Regions from separate parts of the Homo sapiens genome. Here region 2 is linked to region 1. The links are contacts of gene promoters, found by promoter capture Hi-C in blood cells and fetal thymus (Javierre and others, 2016). All regions are on one chromosome and are shown on one strand. The core of a region is centred on a gene start or on the middle of the fragment in contact, and the rest is flanking DNA. Distances in the headings are between cores, read along the strand shown.

Region 1 (3,105 bases), core at 606-3,105:
ACCTGGGGCTCCTGGGCACGTGGAAAGTGGGACACGCTGTGGGGTCCTCACGCAATTCTGTATGTCCGGGGGATATAAGCCCATTTTAAGGAGGGTAGATGACAGAGGCTCAGAGAGGACAGGAGGCCGGTCCAGCCCAGACAGGGCCCAGCCTGTGTCCCCAACCAGCACCCAGGCCATAGGCCACCTCATAGGGACAAACAGGTGACAGGGGCCAGGAACACAGGGACTCCACACCCAGAAGATGTAGCCACCTGAGACCCCCAGGCCTGAGCCTCCAGGTAGGCAAAGAGGTTGGGGCAACCTCTCCCACACTCAAAAGACCCCCAAGACCAGAACAGCCTCCCAGATCAGAACAGCTCCTCAGACCAGGAAAGCGCCCCCCAGACCAGAACAGCCCCCCCGAGACCAGGACAGTGCCCCCAGACCAGGAGAGCCCCCCAGACCAGGACACCCCCTCAGACAGAACAGTCCCCCAGACCAGGACAGCCCCCCAGACCAGGACAGCCCCCCCCAGACCAGGAGAGCCCCCCAGACCAGGACACCCCCTCAGACAGAACAGTCCCCCAGACCAGGACAGCCCCCCCAGACCAGGACAGCCCCCCAGACCAGGACAGCCCCCCCAGACCAGGACAGCCCCCCCAGACCAGGAGAGTCCCCCAGGCCAGGACATCCCCTCACACAGAACAGTCCCTGAGACCAGGACAGCCCCCCCAGACCAGGACACCCCCTCACACAGAACAGACTCCCAGATCAGGACAGCCCCCCAGACCAGGACAGCCCCCCAGACCAGGACAGCCCCCGCCAGACCAGGACAGCCCCCCCCAGACCAGGAGAGCCCCCCAGACCAGGACACCCCCTCACACAGAACAGATTCCCAGACCAGGACAGCCCCCAGACCAGGACAGCCCCCCCCAGACCAGGACAGCCCCCCAGACCAGGACAGCCCCCCCCCAGACCAGGAGAGCCCCCCAGGCCAGGACACCCCCTCAGACAGAACAGTCCCCCAGACCAGGACAGCCCCCCAGACCAGGACAGCCCCCCCCAGACCAGGAGAGCCCCCCAGACCAGGACACCCCCTCAGACAGAACAGTCCCCCAGACCAGGACAGCCCCCCCAGACCAGGACAGCCCCCCAGACCAGGACAGCCCCCCCAGACCAGGACAGCCCCCCAGACCAGGACAGCCCCCCCCAGACCAGGACAGCCCCCCCAGACCAGGACAGCCCCCCAGACCAGGACAGCCCCCCCAGACCAGGACACCCCCTCAGACAGAACAGTCCCCCAGACCAGGACAGCCCCCCCAGACCAGGACAGCCCCCCAGACCAGGACAGCCCCCCCAGACCAGGACAGCCCCCCAGACCAGGACAGCCCCCCCCAGACCAGGACAGCCCCCCAGACCAGGACAGCCCCCCAGACCAGGACAGCCCCCCCAGACCAGGACACCCCCTCAGACAGAACAGTCCCCCAGACCAGGACAGCCCCCCCAGACCAGGACAGCCCCCCAGACCAGGACAGCCCCCCCAGACCAGGACAGCCCCCCAGACCAGGACAGCCCCCCAGACCAGGACAGCCCCCCAGACCAGGACAGCCCCCCCAGACCAGGACACCCCCTCAGACAGAACAGTCCCCCAGACCAGGACAGCCCCCCCAGACCAGGACAGCCCCCCAGACCAGGACAGCCCCCCCAGACCAGGACAGCCCCCCAGACCAGGACAGCCCCCCAGACCAGGACAGCCCCCCAGACCAGGACAGCCCCCCCAGGACATCCCTTTGGACCCTCACCTGGGCTGGCTGCCCACTTCCCGGAGCGGCAAGGAGGAAGCTGTGCTTAGACGCTTCTGTGTCCGCGCACCTGGCGTCCAGCCTCTCCCTGCCCCTGGGTCCAGGACAGCTGGGGTGGGCGGGGCAGGGCGGTGACAGCCTCGGGCGATGCGCTGTGCACCTGGCTCCAGGGCCCGCAGGCTGAGGCCAGCGCCCAAGGTCGCCCCGCCCACTCCACCCTCGGGTCCCCCGCCCAGGGTCTCCCCGCATCTCCCACCCGCGGGTCTGTCTCGGTGCCCAGGGTCGCCCCGCCCCCGGGGGGGTGGGAGGCAGGAGAGGGAAGCTGAGGAGGAGCCTGGAGCTGCGAGGGGCAGAACTCCGGGACCCCGCCCCCCACGGCCCGCAGCCGCGCTCCTGACCCCGGCCCGGACTTTACCCCCCGTGCCGCCCGGCCCGGGCAGGTCGGAGTCAGGTGACCCCGAAGGTCCAGGCCCGGGGCGGGGGCGGAAGCGCCTGCAGCCCCGCGGCGCCCGTCGTTTTCCATTTGCAGCCACTCTGCCTTTCCCGCTCGCCGTGGGTCCCGGGGCCGCCGCCGTCGGGGTCCGGGCCTCTGAAGCGGGGCGGGGCTGGGGGAGGCGCGGAGCCAGGGCCGGGCTGGGTGGGGCTGGGGGTGTTGGGGGGCGGGGAATAGGGTGGGGGAATGCGGGGGGGCGGTGAATTCCTTTCTGTGTGAGATCCAAGAACCCTCTTGGGGTCTCAATCGGGACTCTCTTTACTGGTAGCATATTTGGTGTCATGTGTGTGCATTTTTGTGCTTTTTCTTGGTGATTTCACTGTTTATAATGGCGTCTCAGCATAGTGCAGAAATGCAAGAAGGCTGAGATGCACTTTACAGAGAAAACACACATTGGATAAGCTTCATTCGTGCAAGAGTTAGCGCTGTTGGCCATGAGTTCAATGTTAGTGATACAATACATATTAAGTAAGGTGCCCTTAAACAAAAATACACATAAAAGAAGGTTTTATTAATATATTGATCATTTAACAAAAATGTGACCAGAAGCTTGCAGGAACAGAACTTTGCATTTCCCTTAGGAGCAATAGTTTAGCATATTCTTTAATTCAGTGTTTGCAGCAACTTTATACACTAGCTGCCATGGGTCATAAGAGTCAAATGTGTTTGTTGAGGATTTTTGCAGTTGTGTTCAACAAAGTTGCATAGTTTTCTTTTTTAGTCCTGGTTTCTGTATGGGGATAATGCTGGGCTTATAAAATGAGTCTGGGAAGTTGTCCTTTTTTTTTTTTTTTTTTGAGATGGAGTCTCGCTCTGTCACCCAGGCTA
Region 2 (3,115 bases), core at 163-2,662, 140 kb after region 1:
CGACCAGAGGGTGAATAGAGTTGTTGTCATTGAAACTGTACAGGAAGAGACGGCCTAAACGGACCTGAGGCTCCTTAACTTCCATTCCACCCTACAAAAAATGCAGAGGTAGTCTCTGATTATCCCAAGACACGAAGGAACCCAAAGGATGGGAAAAGGGATCCAAGGAACTCAAAGGTTTGCCATGACTAAAGGAGTGGAATTCTGCCTGGAAGGAGAACCTCTGGTTTTCTGAGCTGGAGAAACGTCTATTAATGAGTAGGTGAACACTCCTGGACCCAGTAGAGAAGGCTCCTTCTAAACCGGCCAACAGGGACCAGCTATGGCTAGGGTAACCACAGAACCCAGTTTGCCTGGGACAGTCCTGACTTACGCCTGTTGTTCCAGTGCCCAATTTGGATCCTAATATGTACCCACCAGAAGTTAAGATATAATTCCCACTTTCTCTTTACTGTACATTCCACCCATTCCCTTGGGCCACACCTGTATATAGAAGACGTTCTGCTCTCAAGATTTTAAAGTTGGCCGGGGGCGGTGGCTCGTGCCTGTGGTGCCAGCTACTCAGGGGGTTGAGGCGGGAGGATGCCCTGAGCCCTGGAGTCCGAGGCTGCACTCCAGCCTGGGTGACAGTGCAAGACCTTGTCTCAGAAAAAAGTAATTTCTTTTTTTTGAGATGTAGTCTTGCTGTATCGCCCAGGCTGGAATGCAGTGGTGCGATCTCGGCTCACTGCAAGCTCTGCCTCCCGGGTTCACGCCATTCTCCTGCCTCAGCCTCCCGAGTGGCTGGGACTACAGGCGCCGCCACCACGCCCGGCTAATTGTTTTGTATTTTTTTAGTAGAGACGGGGTTTCACCATGTTAGCCAGGATGGTCTCGATCTCCTGACCTCGTGATCCGTCCGCCTCGGCCTCCCAAAGTGCTGGGATTACAGGCGTGAGCCACTGCGCCCGGCCGAGAACAATTTTTTTAAAAAGATTCTAAACTGTTTCCAGCCTACCTCCTGGCCAAAGGGCCAATATCCCCTCTTCATCTCCTGGGCGATTCGGTGCGCCTTTCGGCCTCAACCTCGTGGCCGGCCCCGCCCTCCCCTCCCGAAGCCGCGGCGCGCGCACCTTGTTCTGGGGGCCGGCAGGCCGGTCCTCCGGCCGCCGCAGCTGGTAGGTCCCGCACGCCAGCAGGTGCCTGCAGCCTTGCAGCGGGCACCACTCCACCGAGTCCGCGGTCAGCTCGGTGTCCACCGTTTGCAGGGCGAAACAGCCCATCATCCAGCCCTCGGGGAAGGGCGCGGAGCCGGCAGTAGAGGCGGGTCGGCGGGGCCGGGCTGGGTACTGCGCGGGGCGGCGAGGCCGGGGCCGGCCGGACGAGCGCAGAGCCCCAGGGACACCGTCAGCGCGGGCCGCCTCTCTCGCGACTCCTTCCGGGGTGCCGGGGCGGGACATCCGGCAGGGCCTTGGCCTCCGTGGACGCCCCTGGGAAGCCAGGCTCCCACGCCCCCTGTCGGCCGGCTGACCGCGGCGGGCTTCAGGCGTCAGACGCGCTGCTCCCTGCGGGGCCGTAGAGACCGAAGGCTTCGGGAAATCCGCTCCTCCACAAAGCAGGTTTGGAGACGGCAAGTTAGTGACAGAGCCGTAGGTTTGAAGCCGCCTCTGCAAAATTTCTATCACTGAGAAAAACCCCAACAGCGAGCTGCGGTAGCGCACCCCGTGGCGCCCTCCCGGTTACTCCTGGCCATCGGGCCGCGCTGACTTAACATTTAGGCTGCAGTTTCCATGACAGGCCTTGCCCCGGAATCAACGCCTTCGTAAAGCTGATGAGGAGCCCGCGCCCCACTAAGCCCAGCACCCCGAGGCCGCAGGCGCGCTCTGCCTGCCTCCTGTGAACCCGCCATGGCGGAGCTGCCCCTCAGAGACCGCCTTCCAGGGTCTTTGCTTGTCTGACACCCGTGGCTGCATCAGGACCCCCCAGAAGCGGCTCAGCAGGTGGACGGCTCCGACCCCTATGATTATCAGCACCAGTCGCCTGGCCGCCGCCCCCCTCCCCCAAAACTGCCTTTGAAAAAACCCCTAACCTAGGAGCTTTGGACAAGATGATCTGAGGACGAACTCCATCTCACATGTGGCCTGGCCGGCCCGTGTCTATTAATTTTTTTGTTTTTTTTTTTTGAGACGGAGTCTTGCTCTGTCACCCAGGCTGGAGTGCAGTGGCGCGATCTCAGTTCACTGCAAGCTCCGCCTCCCGGGTTTAAGCCATTCTCCTGCCTCAGCCTCCCCAGTAGCTGGGACTACAGGCGCGCATCACCACGCCCAGCTAATTTTTTGTATTTTTAGTAGAGACGGGGTTTCACCGTGTTAGCCAGGATGGTCTCGATCTTCTGACCTCGTGATCCACCCGCCTCGGCCTCCCAAAGTGCTGGGGTTACAGGTGTGAGCCACTGCGCCCGGCCCTAAACTTTTTTTCTTTATTGCAATCCACGGTCTGAATGTGTGCAGCGGGCAGGAAGAACCCCTTGGGCCGTTACAGGTTGAACTGTGCCCCCCAAAAAACAATGGACTGAAGACCCCAGCACCTCAGAGAGCATCCTTAACAAACAGGGGCTCTCAGAAGCAGCAGGCGTGGGCCCTGACCCAGAGGAGCAGGAGTCCGCAGAAGAGAAAGCTGATGCAGAAGACTTGCAGGGCCATTGCTGTGCAGAGCACAGGGAGGCAGGCAAGGCACCTGGCAGGGAGGAGGCGTCCGCACCTGAGGGCCCTTGCCTGCGCCTTCATCTGAGACTCCGGCCTCCAGAGCCTAGACTGTGAATTCCCGCTGCTTCAGGCTGCACAGCTCGCGCTGCTTTGTTGCGGCAGCTCCAGGAAGCTAAGGCGGACTTGACTGAAATATACGGGTGCCTGGGTATTCAGCCTCAGGGCTTCAAGCAGGGCTGTGGCTAAAGACATGGCAGAGAGCCAACAGCTCAGACCACCACAGAGACAGAGGCGCAGAAAAGGCTGGCCAGGAAGGCAGCAGGGCATTCCAAAAGGGCCTCAACCACACACCTCTGCGGGGGAGGGAGAGTGACCAGGTGCGCATCCCAACACACCACACTCCAAACAAGCTTTAGAAGCAGCCCCACATT

The links. Contacts are between HindIII fragments. The CHiCAGO score rates a contact against its expected background, and 5 or more counts as called.
Region 2: the fragment with the promoter of DPH7 here is called in contact with the fragment with the promoter of ENTPD8 in region 1 in 4 of 17 cell types (non-activated CD4 T cells, naive CD8 T cells, total CD4 T cells and 1 more); the score reaches 6.9 in non-activated CD4 T cells.

Annotation. Positions count from the first base shown.
Region 1 is chr9:137,439,502-137,442,606 of GRCh38, forward strand. It overlaps ENTPD8 (ectonucleoside triphosphate diphosphohydrolase 8), which reads right to left and starts at 1,856. Exons shown (of 10, transcript NM_001033113.2): 1 at 1,785-1,856. RefSeq lists a silencer at 1,716-2,010. The HindIII fragment of the contact is 13,084 bases long and covers 1-2,677 here.
Region 2 is chr9:137,577,513-137,580,627 of GRCh38, forward strand. It overlaps DPH7 (diphthamide biosynthesis 7), which reads right to left and starts at 1,413. Exons shown (of 9, transcript NM_138778.5): 1 at 1,113-1,413; 2 at 1-91. The coding sequence starts at 1,265. RefSeq lists a silencer at 1,099-1,508 and enhancers at 1,693-2,664, 1,759-1,818. The HindIII fragment of the contact is 6,073 bases long and covers 1-3,092 here.